Linked DNA regions of Homo sapiens: all the other regions are linked to region 1. The links are contacts of gene promoters, found by promoter capture Hi-C in blood cells and fetal thymus (Javierre and others, 2016). All regions are on one chromosome and are shown on one strand. Each heading gives the region's core, a stretch centred on a gene start or on the middle of the fragment in contact. The rest is flanking DNA. Distances are from core to core; before and after follow the strand shown. Region 1 holds the start of CD79B (CD79b molecule). Region 2 has its middle 34 kb from the start of TEX2. Region 3 has its middle 12 kb from the start of TEX2. Region 4 overlaps TEX2 (testis expressed 2). Region 5 overlaps TEX2 (testis expressed 2).

What was found. The method cuts DNA at HindIII sites, captures the fragments that hold promoters and counts their contacts. A CHiCAGO score of 5 or more calls a contact.
Region 2: a contact is called between a fragment that was not itself captured here and the fragment with the promoter of CD79B in region 1, in 1 of 17 cell types (M2 macrophages). The highest score is 6.1, in M2 macrophages.
Region 3: a contact is called between a fragment that was not itself captured here and the fragment with the promoter of CD79B in region 1, in 1 of 17 cell types (monocytes). The highest score is 6.0, in monocytes.
Region 4: a contact is called between a fragment that was not itself captured here and the fragment with the promoter of CD79B in region 1, in 1 of 17 cell types (endothelial precursors). The highest score is 5.3, in endothelial precursors.
Region 5: a contact is called between a fragment that was not itself captured here and the fragment with the promoter of CD79B in region 1, in 2 of 17 cell types (naive CD4 T cells and monocytes). The highest score is 5.9, in naive CD4 T cells.

Annotation. Positions count from the first base shown.
Region 1 is chr17:63,930,939-63,933,801 of GRCh38, reverse strand. It overlaps CD79B (CD79b molecule), which reads left to right and starts at 1,471. Exons shown (of 6, transcript NM_000626.4): 1 at 1,471-1,607; 2 at 2,417-2,467. The coding sequence starts at 1,541. RefSeq lists enhancers at 1-220, 795-844, 855-964, 821-1,491, 1,465-1,854 and 2 more and a silencer at 2,552-2,621. The HindIII fragment of the contact is 15,563 bases long and covers 1-2,863 here.
Region 2 is chr17:64,296,267-64,299,129 of GRCh38, reverse strand. No RefSeq gene overlaps it. Among named protein-coding and RNA genes, the nearest start is that of TEX2, 34 kb to the right of the region's middle. The HindIII fragment of the contact is 5,394 bases long and covers 1-2,863 here.
Region 3 is chr17:64,273,459-64,276,321 of GRCh38, reverse strand. No RefSeq gene overlaps it. Among named protein-coding and RNA genes, the nearest start is that of TEX2, 12 kb to the right of the region's middle. The HindIII fragment of the contact is 5,259 bases long and covers 1-2,863 here.
Region 4 is chr17:64,254,067-64,256,929 of GRCh38, reverse strand. The region is part of intron 1 of TEX2 (testis expressed 2); the gene reads left to right. Among named protein-coding and RNA genes, the nearest start is that of TEX2, 7.8 kb to the left of the region's middle. The HindIII fragment of the contact is 1,885 bases long and covers 548-2,432 here.
Region 5 is chr17:64,225,591-64,228,453 of GRCh38, reverse strand. The region is part of intron 1 of TEX2 (testis expressed 2); the gene reads left to right. Among named protein-coding and RNA genes, the nearest start is that of TEX2, 36 kb to the left of the region's middle. The HindIII fragment of the contact is 1,470 bases long and covers 680-2,149 here.

The DNA of each region.
Region 1 (2,863 bases), core at 222-2,721:
CTGTTTATTCCATGAACTGAACATCTGACAGCTTTTCAGAGAAATGTTTTTTCATTTGGAACATCTGGAAACAAGAAAGAACATCTGGGGCTGCCCGGAACGGGCTGTTCCTCGGATGAAACCTTAACCCTCCTGCCCCTGACTTCCGTGGCTCAGGTCCTGGCCTGCACCCCTTGAGAGTGGCCCCCACCTTATCAGGTCCGAGGCCTAGGCCAAGATCTAAAGAGGGACCACCCAGACCCTCTGCCTTCCAACCATGGCATGGGAGGTGGTTCTGCTTCTCCCTAAATCCAGACAGACCTGCCCCAGCACAGACTGGAAAACGGAGGGTTGTGAGGAGAGTGAGAGGTGGACAGAGGGCACCGACGATTTAGCATCTCTTCCTCTCCTGGGGGTCGAGGATGAGAGACAAAAAAGAAGCTGCCAGGAAACATAAAATTCAGAGGGCTCAGCTGCAGGGCTGAGGTCTGCAAGCATGCTGTGTACACTTGTGCATGTTGTGCCCTGCACAAGGGCATCTCTGAAGGGGCTGCATTGGACCCAGGGGCAGGGGCGCAAAGGTGAGTTTATATCAGTTCCTGAGCACTGTGGCTCCATCCAGCACTCTGAGGACAGGCAGGATACAGCTGGAGGACCTGAGGGCTCCCCCACACCAGCTCCTGTTCCCTGCCCAAGACCCCCTGGACCTGCAGACAACAATTCAACGCACTCAGAGTCCCACAGTTAAGAACTCCCTGAAGAAGCCCCCAGTGGCTGCGTGGTGGATTTTCGCAAAGCTGTCTCCACCTACATCCACCCTGTTTGGCAGCCCCTACATACTCTTTCACAGCATGAGGAAGGGAGGCCTCTCACCAAGACCTGGACTGAATCTTCTCCCAGTGGCTGCCACACTTGACCTGCTCTTGCTCCAGAACCTCTGTGGCTCCCATCCTCCACAGGGTCAACTTCCAACATGGCTGCCTGCACTCCAGCCAAGAGGCTCTGCTCTGGGCCCCTCCAGATGCCTGACCTGGGTCTGTGGCTGCCCTGTCCTTCTTCAGTGCTCCTCTTCCCGCTGGGTGAGGAATAGTTCAGGACAGAGGAGCTAAGTTCAGGTTCATTCATAGGACAGGTGCCTATTTCGCTCACGGCCCAGGAATAGAGACTTGCCGGGCTCGGCCCTTCGGGGAGTTGGCAGACGGCAGAGGGGAGGCTGGCTGGCCCAGGGGATGACCACCGGTGGGGTAAGCACAGACAGAGGGGAGCACAGGCTTCCCCCAGAAGACTGAGAGGCCCCCCAGAGGCATCCACAGAGGACCCCAGCTGTGCTGCCCAAGCTGGGCGACCGCCAAACCTTAGCGGCCCAGCTGACAAAAGCCTGCCCTCCCCCAGGGTCCCCGGAGAGCTGGTGCCTCCCCTGGGTCCCAATTTGCATGGCAGGAAGGGGCCTGGTGAGGAAGAGGCGGGGAGGGGACAGGCTGCAGCCGGTGCAGTTACACGTTTTCCTCCAAGGAGCCTCGGACGTTGTCACGGGTTTGGGGTCGGGGACAGAGCGGTGACCATGGCCAGGCTGGCGTTGTCTCCTGTGCCCAGCCACTGGATGGTGGCGTTGCTGCTGCTGCTCTCAGGTACAGAACCCACGACGAGGCCTGTGGGGTTTGCTCTCATCTCCAGCTGTCTGGGCCCTGCGGCTCTGCCTCCTGCTTGCTCCACCCTCCTCCTCTGTCTCTCACTCTTTACCGCCTGTCTCCCTCTCATGGCCCTGGGGCCTGGGTCTGTGGGTGTCAGCTGCACGTGGTGATGGGCTCAGGAGCCTGTGGCCCCAGTTCCTCTCCTGCCTGGAGAGCATCAGGCTGAGCTGGGCATGAGGAGCAAACCAGAGTTAGCAACCAGGACCGTGGAAGAACTAGGCTCAGGAGGAAGAGAGGCTGAGGGCGGTGCCTGGGGGTCGGGAGGGGAGAGGCTGTCCCAACCGGACCCTGGAAGATGCAAGATCCAAATGTGGTCCCCTCCTCTGGGAGGTGAAAGATCCTCCGGGCTGTGACTTTCTTCCTGTCTCTCTTTAAAAAAAAAAAAAAAAAGAGAGACAGGGTGTCCCTATGTTGCCCAGGCTGGTCTCAAACTCCTGGACCCAAGCGATCCTCCTGTCTTGGCCTCTCAAAATACTGAGATTTCCCTGTCCCTCCTGTCTCATTCAGATGCCTGCTCAAAGCCACCATGAGGGTCAAAGGCAGAAAGGGGGCTGGGGGCAGGGCTTCCGGTACCCCCACCCCATATCTGTCTCCCAAGTACTGGGGGCAGGGAGGACCGAGGGGTCTTGAAGCTGCTGTCATGGAAGGAGGAAGTAGCTCCGGGAACATAGAGGGCATGCAGGGGTGGGGCAGCCCAGGCCAGAGGAGGCCCTGACTGGCCCCGCCCACTTCCTCCCACCCAGCAGCTGAGCCAGTACCAGCAGCCAGATCGGAGGACCGGTACCGGAATCCCAAAGGTCAGTAGCCTCGCCTGCCGCTTCTGAGGGCAAGTTGTGTGCGACTATGTCCTGTGTCCGACTATGGTCCCTGTCCTGGGGGCGGTCCGCCTTCCCACCCTTGCCTGATCTCCCCATCCAGGATTCCCATCCCCAGGCCTCCTTAGGATCTCCTCTGAGCCCCACCCCCAGCCCACTGTCATCCTCATCAGACACATGCCCTCCAGCCTTGGCCACTGAAGGGCTGGGCTAAACTCTGGGTCATAGCAAGGGAGCCTGGGGGTTCCTCTAGGACTCAGGCCCGGGCCTGTCTAGCTGGGAATCTGGCTGAGTCTCGGGTGAGCCCTCCAGTGCAGGGTCACTATGTGAGGGGCTCAGGGATTCCCGGGCAGTGCTCACTAAGAACAAGGCAGTCGA
Region 2 (2,863 bases), core at 99-2,598, 370 kb before region 1:
CTCTAAAATACAATAGGAAGTTGAGCTGGCAAATATCTGTTGCATATCAGGCCCCTGTGCTTGGTGTTGAAGATTCTGAAATAAAGAAGACAGTCTACCCTTTAAGAAGTTCACGGTCAGCCGGGCGTGGTGGCTCATGCCTGTAATCCCAGTACTTTGGGAGGCCGAGGTGGGCAGATCACCTGAGGTGAGGAGTTCGAGACCAGCCTGGCCAACATGGCGAAACCCCATCTCTATTAAAAATACAAGAAATTAGCTGGGCATGGTGGCGTGCGCCTGTAATCCCAGCTACTTGGGAGGCTGAGGCAGGGAGAATTGCTTGAACCCCGGTGTTGGAGGTTGCAGTGAGCTGAGAGCTGACATCGTGCCATTGCACTCCACCCTGGGCAACAGAGACTCTGTCTCAAAAAAAAAAAAAAAAAAAAAAAAAAAAAAAAGAAGTTCGTGGTCTGCAATAGAAGACGGCCACATAAAAATAAATATTATTCAAGCCGGGTGCGGTGGCTCACGCCTGTAATCCCAACACTTTGGGAGGCCAAGGCAGGTGGATCACGAGGTCAGGAGATTGAGACCATCCTAGCTAACACGGTGAAACCCTGTCTCTACTAAAAATAGAAAAAATTAGCTGGGCGTGGTGGCGGGCGCCTGTAGTCCCAGCTACTCAGGAGGCTGAGGCAGGAGAATGGCGTGAACCTGGGAGGCGGAGCTTGCAGTGAGCCGAGATGGTGCCACTGCACTCCAGCCTGGGCGACAGAGCAAGACTCTATCTCAAAAACAAAAAAAAAAAAACAAAAAAAACAAATAAATAAATAAATAAATATTATTCAATATACACAGAGAGACAAGCTGTACTAAAAGTAAGTGCTAGGTACATGGATGGTGCAATCATGGGGTAGGTGATTAGCTCTGGTTAGAAGGCTTGGGAAAATGCAGGCCGGGCACGGTGGCTCACATCTGTAATACCAGCACTTTGGGAGGCCAAGGCAGGAGGATCACTTGAGGCCAGGAGTTCAAGACCAGCCTGGCCAACATGGTGAAACCCCATCACTACTATAATTACAAAAAAAACAAAATTAGCCAGGTGTGGTGGAGTGAGCCTGTAGTCCCAGCTACTTGGGAGGCTGAAGAATGAGAATCACTTCAATCTGGGAGGCGGAGGTTGCAGTAAGCCGAGATTACGCCACTGCACTCAAGCCTGGGTGACAGAGCGAGATTCCATCTCAAAAAAAAAGGCTTGGGAAAATGCTTCTGAGCAGGGGACATTCCAGCTAGTACATTCCTGAAAGCACATAGAGGAGGGAGGGCGGAAACAGAATGCCAGGCAGAGGAAGACCCTCATGGAGGCATGAACACCCTCTCTGGCTGGAGGAATTGTGAGCAGTGAGCTATGGCCAGAACAGAAGTTTGACCCAGGGCACAAGAGGAGGTGAAACCAGAGAAGCTGCACAGGGGCCTGTGAACCAACTGGGCCAAGGGCCTGCAACTTGAGCCAGAAGCCCAGCGGTTCCTAGACTGTGTGCCGAGGAACACCAGTCCTTCAGACTGACAGATGCTCTGTGCAAAAGGCTTCCATGGCAAAGTGCCCTTGGAAAACTCTGGGTTAAAGGGTTTTGTTCTTTAATTGCAGACGCATCAAAGCCTTTACTATACTAATATGCCAGGAATTCTCCAAGAGGGGGCAACACAGGGAGCTAGTCCCAAATGGATTTAACCACAGGCCTCCCATGCCCACCACCACACACTTTGTTGTTTAAGGAAAATTTATGGCCAGGTACAGTGGCTAATGCCTGTAATCCCAGCACTTTGAGAGACTCAGGCAGGAGGATCACTTTAGCCCGAGAGTTTGAGACCAGCCTGGGCAACAAGCAAAATTCCATCTCTACAAAAAATAAAAATAAATTAGTCGGGTGTGGTGGTGCACTCCTGTAGTCACAGTGACTCGGGAGGCTGAGGTGGGAGGATTGTTTGAGTCCAGGAGGTTGAGGCTGCAGTGAGCTGTGATCGTGACATGACACTGGACTCCAGCCTGGGTGACAGAGACCCTGTCTCCAAAAAAAAGCAAAAGAAAATGTATTGTTAACATCTTATACGGTGATGTCCCCAGGGCACAGTTTCAGAAACTCAGCTGTTGGGCAATGGGAAGCCAGTGAAGGAAACCAGTAAAGTGAAAAGAACACAAACTTCGGAGTCCCATGGTCCTGAGTTCAAATGCATTTCACTGTTTACCAGCTCAGTCACCTTGACCAACCTTGGGCAAGTTGCCTCATCATTAAAGTGGGACCCACAGAAGCTACCCTGTAGGCTTTTGGAAATTAAATGAAAGAACCTAAGCAATATGGTAGACACTCAGTAGGTTCTGGGTACATAACTGGCAGTCACCATTACAATCTTTTCATCATCGTGATCAGAAAGAGCTCATGGGAGCTGTCTTGGGGGGTTGCTCTGCCCAGTCGGGCCTGGACACAGCGAGACTAGAGAACCGGCTATGAAACCACCCCAGGAGGGAGGCCGAGGGGAATATCCCACAGCTGTGAGAGGCATGAAATCCACAGGTCTGGGTGGCTGGATGGAGTCAAGAGTGAGATCAATATTGAGGACACCTGTGGGGCTAGGGCCAGTGGGTCAGGGAGTTGGAAGGGCTTTTAACCAGCACAGAAAGTCCAGGCTGAGCAGCATTTCAGGGACAGAAACAAATTGTTGCATGTAACCTTCTCTCTCTAACTCAGATATTTCTGGCATGACTTAAGACTAGCTCTAAAAGCTACTCCTTGATCTGTTTATTTTCTTTAGAATTGTCGACACAACGATTACTTCCAATGTTAAATCGCATTTCGTGTTGTTTTCTTTGTCAGACTCAAAGAGT
Region 3 (2,863 bases), core at 121-2,620, 340 kb before region 1:
CATCTCACGGCCTGCCCTGGCCAACATTCCACCCTCGCATTTTCCAGCACCAGTGGATGGATTGACGTCCTTTCTTAAGTCCGATCTGCTGGACCACCACAAATGTGTGACTTGAGTGCTGAGACTTGACATCTCTCCATCCTACCATGGCCTGGCGAGAACAGAAGAGCTCATTCTAAGTGAATCAGGCTTGGATAGATTAAGAGGTGGCCAACGGATGTTTTGATCTCTATTTTTGTTTTGTTTTGTTTTGTTTTGTTTGTTTAGATGGAGTTTCACTCTTGCCCAGGTTGGAGTGCAGTGGCGTGATCTCGGCTCACTGCAACCTCCACCTCTGGGGTTCAAGTGATTCTCCTGCCTCAGCATCTCCATTAGCTGGGATTGCAGGTATGCGCCACCACGCCCGGCTAATTTTTGTATTTTTAGCAGAGACAAGGTTTCACCATGTTGGCCAGGCTGGTCTCGAACTCCTGACCTCAGGTGATCCACCTGCCTGGGCTTCCCAAAGTGCTGGGATTATAGAGGTGAGCCACTGTGCCCGGTCTTAATGGATGTTTTGAAAAGAACTGTATAAGGGCCAAGTAAGACAGAGACCCACATGTGACCTCTGGATTTGGCAGAGTGGAGATCATCAGTGGTGTGACAAGAGCAGTTTTAGAGGAGCAGTAGAGGCAGAAGCCACTTATCAGAAGCCACTTTGGAGCAGGTGAAAGAGGATGATAGGAGAGGAAGAGAATTCTTTGGAAAAATTTTGCTGTAAAGGACAGCTGGGAATGGAGTAGCAGTGAGAGGGGTGATGGGCAAGAGGAAGGGAATTTTTCAGAAGGGAGATAGGAGAACATGTTTGTACGTTAATTGGAATAATCTGGTAGACAAGAAGAAATTGATTATGCAGGAGAAAGGGGGAAATGGTTGCAATAGTAAAGTCTCAGGAAGCTAGAGAGGTTAGGCCTTCTGTGGAAAGAGTGGTCACAGAGGTCTGAGAGTGGGAGAGTGAACTCACCCAGGTAATATAGGCTTGCCAGCCAGGGCCCAGTGCCCATTTGAGATTTGTGATGATCGTTTTGAAGTGGAATCGTTGAGTAACAGCAGAGGCATGAGGTGAGAAAGGATGATGGCTGTGGGGTTGGATTTGGGGCAGAGTTTGGACATGCCCAACCCAGCACTTGCTCATGGATTGGATGTGACCAGGAGAGGATGAAATTGAGGACAAGGATGCAACTGAGACAACTCATTGTTCTTGACTTGAACGAGTGGGTAGGTGGGTGCCATTGATGAAGAGAGGGTGGGCAGAGCCTAAGAGCTAGTTCTGTTTGATGTATTTTGATGTGGGATGATTTGAGATGATTATTAGCATCCAACAGGCGAGACCCAGCAGGCAGTTGGGCAAGTCTGGAGTGTAAGGGGAAGGTTGCTGTTTTCTCCTCTGCTCTGCAATATATGAAAACATCCCTTGGGCTGGGCCAGGGTATGTGACATTCACCATCATAATGTGCACACAGGCAGAGGCAGGGCTTCCGAATTTCCCACTAGACTGCAAGCTCCTCGTGAGCAGGGCCTGGGTTTTGTTCACTAGCACCTTTTAGGGCACCCCAGAACCCAGCAGGCATTCAATCAGTATTTTCTGCTGGATAGATGAATTATGTCATAGTCCCTCCCAGCCTCCGGAAACCAGGTGGCTTCCTAAAGTCTGGGACAGGTACCTTCTTAGTTTAATGAGGCCTTACTAATTATAATGGTGACAGTGATGCTTTGGGGGTGACTTACAGTCAGGAAGGGCCAACTGGTCTTCTGAATAATGATTTAAGTGGGTCACACCGTGATGGCTGAGTGACATGGGAGGCCAGGTGGGTGTAGGAGGGTGGAGTGGGCGATTGGATATAGAAAGAAGGCAATTCCAATTCTGCCAGTAAGCTGGGTTTGTTTTGTGACCTTAGGCCAGAGACTTGGCTTCTTCAGGCCTCAGTTTCCCTTTCTTTCTTTCTTTTTTTTTTTTTTTTGAGATGGAGTCTCGTTCTGTTGCCCAAGCTGGAGTACACAGTGGCATGATCTCAACTCACTGCAACCGCTGCTTCCCAGTTTCAAGTGATTCTTCTTTTTCAGTCTCCGGAGTAGCTGGGATTGGAGGCACGCACCACCACAGCCGGCTAATTTTTGTATTTTTAGTAGAGATGGGTTTCACCATGTTGGTCAGGCTGGTCTTGAACTCCAGACCTCGTGATATGTCTGCCTCGGCCTCCCAAAGTGCTGGGATTACAGTCGTGAGCCACCGCTCCTGGACCCTCAGTTTCCTTTTTACTTATTTATTGTTTTAATGGGAATGACAGAGATCTACTCCCTGCCCCCAGATGGCCGTAGGCACCACTAGTAAAAGTGATCATGATGTTTCTTTTTTTTTTTTTTTGAGACAGAGTCTCACTCTTTCACCTAGGCTGGAGTGCAGTGGCACGATCTTGGCTCACTGCAACCTCCACCTCCTGGGTTCAAGTAATTCTCCTGCCTCAGCCTCCCAAGTAACTGGGATTACAGGTGCCCGGCACCACGCCCGGCTAATTTTTGTATTTTTAGTAGAGACGGGGTTTTGCCATGTTGCCCAGGCTTGTCTCAAACTCCTCACCTCAGGTGATCCACCCACCTTGGCCTCCCAAAATGCTGGGATTACAGGTGTGAGCCACCGGGCCCGGCCGATCCTGGTGTTTCTGTGGCAAATAAGGGAACCTAATAAGCCCGAGGCTGAGCATTTGTTCTCAGAAGCAGGGTTCTCATCTCTGTTCTAAGAAATGTAGCCTGGGCTCTGGACACTGTGAAAGAGGCCAGTCATGTTCTAGCAAAAAGACAACTCCAGGACTTGGCCTTGAGGAAG
Region 4 (2,863 bases), core at 241-2,740, 320 kb before region 1:
TTTCTTATTCAATTTTCAGTCCTTTCTTGGACCTCATGCTGTCTTTTGGGCTGTATTCTTATAGATGGTTATATTTATTATTTTAGGCTCAAAATAGAGAATTTAAAAATCTTTTTACTGAAAGGATTGACTGAACAGTGATCGTCATTCAGCAAGTATTTGAGCATCTACCAGGGCCAAGCATTGTGCTTGGCATTGGAAATCTGATGGGGAGCAAAACAGATGTGGTTCCTTCCTGCACAAAGCACATTATCTAGTCTAGACAACAAACAAGTCAATAGACATATGCATCATATATATTGGATTGTAATATGTGTAAAATCTCCTTCCTCTGAAGGAAAAGAACAGGGCACCAAGAAAGAAAGAAAAGGAAGAAACCAGCAACTGGGGGTCTTGGGCAGAGCATTTCAAGAGAGAGAGCAACGTGGATGTCTGGCTGCTGTGCAGAGGGGCAGAGAGGGGAATATGGGAAGGGCAGGCTCAGAAGGTGCCATTCTGCAGAGGACATGTCACAAGGCAGCATAGTGTAGCAGGGAGAGCAGAAGCTTGGGAACCAGACACTGCTCAAGGGGCCTCGGGAAGTTTCTTAACCTCTTTTGCCTCACTTTCCCACCTCCAAGATGCTATGAGGGTTGAATGAGCCTTGAGAGCCATGCCTGGCATGTACAGAAAGGACTGTGGGTAGGGTTTGCTGACTCTCAGGGCTGTGGGGAACTTGATTTCGAGTGGATGAGCTTCTCTTCCTAGTCAGCATTTCCCATGATTCCATGTGTAGCGTAACCATAGGGCAGAAGGTAAAACTAAGACAGCTGAGTAGGTGTATCCATGGAGGCATTCTAAGGTAGATTATGTTGGACTTTCTGTGGTGTGCTAAGCATTCAGCACCCGTACCTGGGAGACTTGGCCCTACCTGTAGGCATCTCTGCAGTGGGTGCAGTCCTGAGTGTGGAGCAAGGTGGACCGGAAGCAGCTGTTCCTCTGCTCTTGCCTGCAGTTGTTTGCTTTAGTGTTTGGATGCGGGCAGATCTTTCACCTTTTTTCCTGATAAGAGGAGACAGAGACTACTGGCCTTACAGCCAGGTGGTCAAACATGACAACTCGGAGTTGCTGTGTGCAAAACCTGCCTGAACCCCATCTCCAGCGAGATTTGATGATGTTTCCCCATTCAAAGGAACAACCACGCCTCAGGACCATACAAGGAGAGGACTTCATGAAACAGGTCACTGGCTTGGGATAGTCAATAAAGTGCTATGAACCCAGCCATATTTAAGTTATAGTTATCTTGTAAAGTATGTGTGAGGCCTCATCAAATTTGTATATAATTGACTAAGTTTTTCAAAATATCTTTTGCTCTGGAATTTTAAAAAACATACACAAAAGTGAAGAATAATATAATGGATATCAGGCATCTATTACTCAATTTTGATAATTATCAACTTTTGCTAATCTTGTTCCAAGATAGTTCCACAATGAAGCATTGTTGGTGGATTTTCTGTCACAGTATAAATGTGTCTTTGGACTATAAAATCATTTGGTAGATATTCTAGAGAAAAAAATGCCTGCACACTGCATAATTATAGGGCTGGTGTTAGGTAGTTGAAATTCAGAATCTGAAATGAACATTTAGTGGAAACCTCTTACAGACTTGTGTATGAGAAGTAGGCATATAAAATTAAGAGTGCTTTCAAGATGACCAGTTAGTCTATGTATTTACTAAGTAGCAACTGTACTGGGCAGTGTGCAAGGTACATTTTTTTTTTTTAAAGGCCAGGTGCTGTGGCTTATGTCTGCAATCCCAGCACTTTGGGAGACCGAAGTGGAGGATCACTTGAGGCCAAGAGTTTGAGACCAGCCTAGGCAACATAGTGAGACCCTGCCTCTACAAAAAAAAAAAAAAAAAAGCCAGATGCAGTGACACACACCTGTAGTCCTAGCTACTTGGCAGGCTGAGCTGGGAGGAGGATTGCTTAAGCCTGGGAATTCAAGGCTGCTGTGAGCCATGATGGCACCACTGCACCACAGCGTTGGTGACAGAATAAGACCCTGTATCTAAAAATCAAACAAACAAAAAAGGACAGTGTTTGTCCACAGTGGCTCATAAAATTATGAGCCCATGATGAAGTCACAGGTTATTTTCAAACATTCTTAGCAAATGAATTTTACACAAAGCCCAAACTGTGAAACTGATTAAGAAGCAGTATTTTAGTGGCATATGTTACTTTAAGTTCAATTTATAGTATTCACTTGTAGCATGAAACAGGACACAAGTTAATATGTCGAAAGTTTCTATATGTTGAATTTCATTTTTATTTTTTAAAGGGGAAATTCACATCAAACATGCAAACAACCCTGTAGCAGTGCCTCTGTGCATCATGGTACAACAGACCATTAAACATTTGAAAGGTGGTTAGTGCAACTGAGAATTGGAAGCTTTAATTTTAATTAAGCTGAAACCGAAGCTTTAATTTTAATTTAAATAGTTCCATGTGCCCATATTGGACAGTATAGCTCCAGGGTTTATTAAACCACCATTCCTGGTGATAGGATAGAGCCCAGCACAAACTAATCTGGGCAACAAATCAAAGGGCACAAGTCGCATGTAGGTTCCAAACTCAGTACATTTTAGAGAAAAGGAGTTTGATTATGTAGTAGAAGGAAGAACTGCCTGGTGGGACTCATGATCTTCCTTTAAGAGCAAGGCTCAAAGACCTGGGGAGTTTTGATTTGATGCTATGATGTCTCCTGGGGCTCAGAATATTATGAAATGAGGAGTGAATCTCTGAGTGAAAAGAACTCAAGCTGCTTGTTGCATTGCGGAATGTCTCTAAGAGGTAGAGAGGCGTCTGTTAAGTGGCTTGTATGA
Region 5 (2,863 bases), core at 165-2,664, 290 kb before region 1:
CCCCCAGATAGGACTGTCTAGTTGCAGGAAAACAAGCTCAGGGCTTCCACTGATTCTACATTATTGTGAGTTGTAGAATTGTGTCATTATATACAATGTAATAACAATAGAAATGAAATGCACAATAAATGCAGTATACTTGAATCATCCCGAAACCATACCCCGCTGCCTCTGGTCCGTGGAAAAATTGTCTTCCATGAAGCTGATTTTGCAGGGAGGAGGAGAAAATTTCACTTTTCCTCTACATCTGTTTTTGAAGTTTTTTTCAATGAGTTTGAAATTATATATTTTTTATTGAAGTGAAGATGTATACATATGGTTCAACTCTCTCATTTCACTTCTAGAAATATTTCCTAAGGAAATAACCAGAGGGCAGTCAAAGGTTTATCTATAGCTAGTCAAAGGTTTATCTATAGCATCATGTGCAGCATTGCAGTCTTGTTTGTAATAAGAAATTCAAGTGGTATTCTTGAATTACATTATGGAATATTCATCCTATACAGCGATTAAAAATCATGCATGAAATAATCTTTGATTTGAGAAAATGCTTATAAGAACAGTAAACAATTAGGGAGGGCTGCTCTGTGCCAGGGATCATGCTCAGTGCTTTGCTTAAGTTGTTTCGTTTAATCTTCTGAACAGTCAGTTGCCATTCCCATTTTACAGATGAAAAGAAGCTTAGGCTTGGTTAGGGTAAATGATTTGCCAGAGGGCCAGACTGCTACCAAGTTGGTGGAACTCAAACTAAAGGCCTTGCTAATGATAGATTACTTCAGTGTGTAATCTTGAGTATAAAAGCAGATTACATACATACATACAGTGTGTCCTCATTTAATAAAAATGAGTCTTTCTGCCTTAGTTTTCTTGTGGGTAAGGCACGGAGGATTGGCTAGGGCAATTTTATATTCTGAAGATAATGATTATAATAATTTTTAAAAGATTGACATGTGTTTACATATAATTTTTTTTCCAGATCACAAAAGTATTTGGAAATACCTGAAATTAGCAAATAACAATTACTGTTAAACCTGTTATATGGAGAAAATGAGAATTAATGCTACCCTCTCCTTTTTTTTGCCCAGTGCAGACATTTGTACATTGGTGTCAGCTTGATGAGTACTTACTTGATGAGTACCATCTGTTTAGGACATACCTGTCCTGAGTTTTCATTACTTATTCTAGGGATTTTTTGCCCCCATATTGATGTCATTTTCTTTTTTTTTTTTTTTGATACGGAGTCTCACTCTGTCACCAGGCTGGAGTGCAGTGGCAGGATCTCAGCTCACTGTAACCTCCGCCTCCAGGGTTCAAGTAATTCTCCTGCCTCACCCTCCCGAGTAGCTGGGACTACAGGCGCGCACCGCCACGCCCAGCTAATTTTTGTATTTTCAGTAGAGGCGGGGTTTCACCATGTTGGCCCAGATGGTCTCGATCTCTTGACCTTGTGATCTGCCTGCCTCGACCTCCCAAAGAGCTGGGATTACAGGCGTGAGCCCCCGTGCCCAGCCTGATGTCATTTTCTGATGTCTATGTGTTGTCTCCTTGAGTTTTCCCTGTGGATGCACCCATTATTTTTTATAAATATTTTATTATTTTTTATACTACTTTTATACTACAGAAAAGTTTTTACTAATTTTCTAGTTTCTAATACCAGTTTTCAGCAAAGTTTTTGCTAATTATGTTCCAGCCTTAGTGCAAGAGAGGGTTTGTCTCATTGTGCCCTTGCCAGCATCATACATGTTTTAATCATTGAGAGAAATTATTTCATCGGTTTGTTTCCAATTCTGTATTATTTTTAGTAAGGTTGAGTTTTTTATTTGTTTCTTGGCCATTTGAACTTTTGGGTGAAGTGCCTGTTCATGTACTTGGGAGATACCTATTGAAGATGCCTTCCTAAATTTGACCATTAAAGAAAGACCTTAAGAAAGACTGTAAGTCCTTCTAAGGGGAAGTTTTACTCTGCCAGGTGGAATGCATTTTTCTTACATTGCATGAAAGTTAAAAACATGATTTCTTAACCACTTGGAATTTATCTGACTTACAAGATTTGCCTTTAAAATTTTAGAAATGATTGGTGAAAAGTACATGGAACCTCTCTGTACTACTTTGGCAACTTCCTGAGAATCTGTCATTATTTCAAAATGAAGCTTGAGAATTTAAGGAATGGTACAACTTCAGCTCTCTCCTCTTACTGCCTGGAACCCTGCTTGATAATCCCAACTGGTAGAACCAATAGGGACGGGAGGGGAGCAGCTCTCATGATATCCCCAAAGCCAAACAGTGGTTAGGAATGCTGCTTTTGTTTTTAATTTGGACATAGTTTCAAACTTTAAAATGGATGCAAAAGTAAAAATGGAATCTTAAACCCTTTCCCAAAGGTACATTGTTGTTAACATGTTACCCCATGAGCATCAGCTTTTGAAAATGTGTTGTTTTGGCTAGGCATGGTGGCTTCCGCCTGTAATCCCAGCACTTTGGGAAGCCAAGGCAGGCAGATCACCTGAGGCCAGGAGTTCAAGACCAGCCTGGCCAACATGGCGAATTTCTGTTTCTACTAAAAATACAAAAATTAGCTGGTTGTGGTGGCATACACCTGTAATCCCAGCTACTTGGGAGGCTGAGGCAAGAGAATGGCTTGAACCCGGGAGGTAGAGGTTGGAGTGAGCTGAAATCTTGCCACTGCACTCCAGCCTGGGTGACAGATCGAGACTCTGTCTCAAAAAAACAAAAAACAAACAAAAAAAAAGAAAAGAAAAGAAAAATGTGTTGTTTTGTGACCACAGCCACAACACACTATTCTCATATCTTGGGCTTTCGGCACCATACTCTCTTGGCTTCCAGGCATTCATTCCTCTGAAGAAAA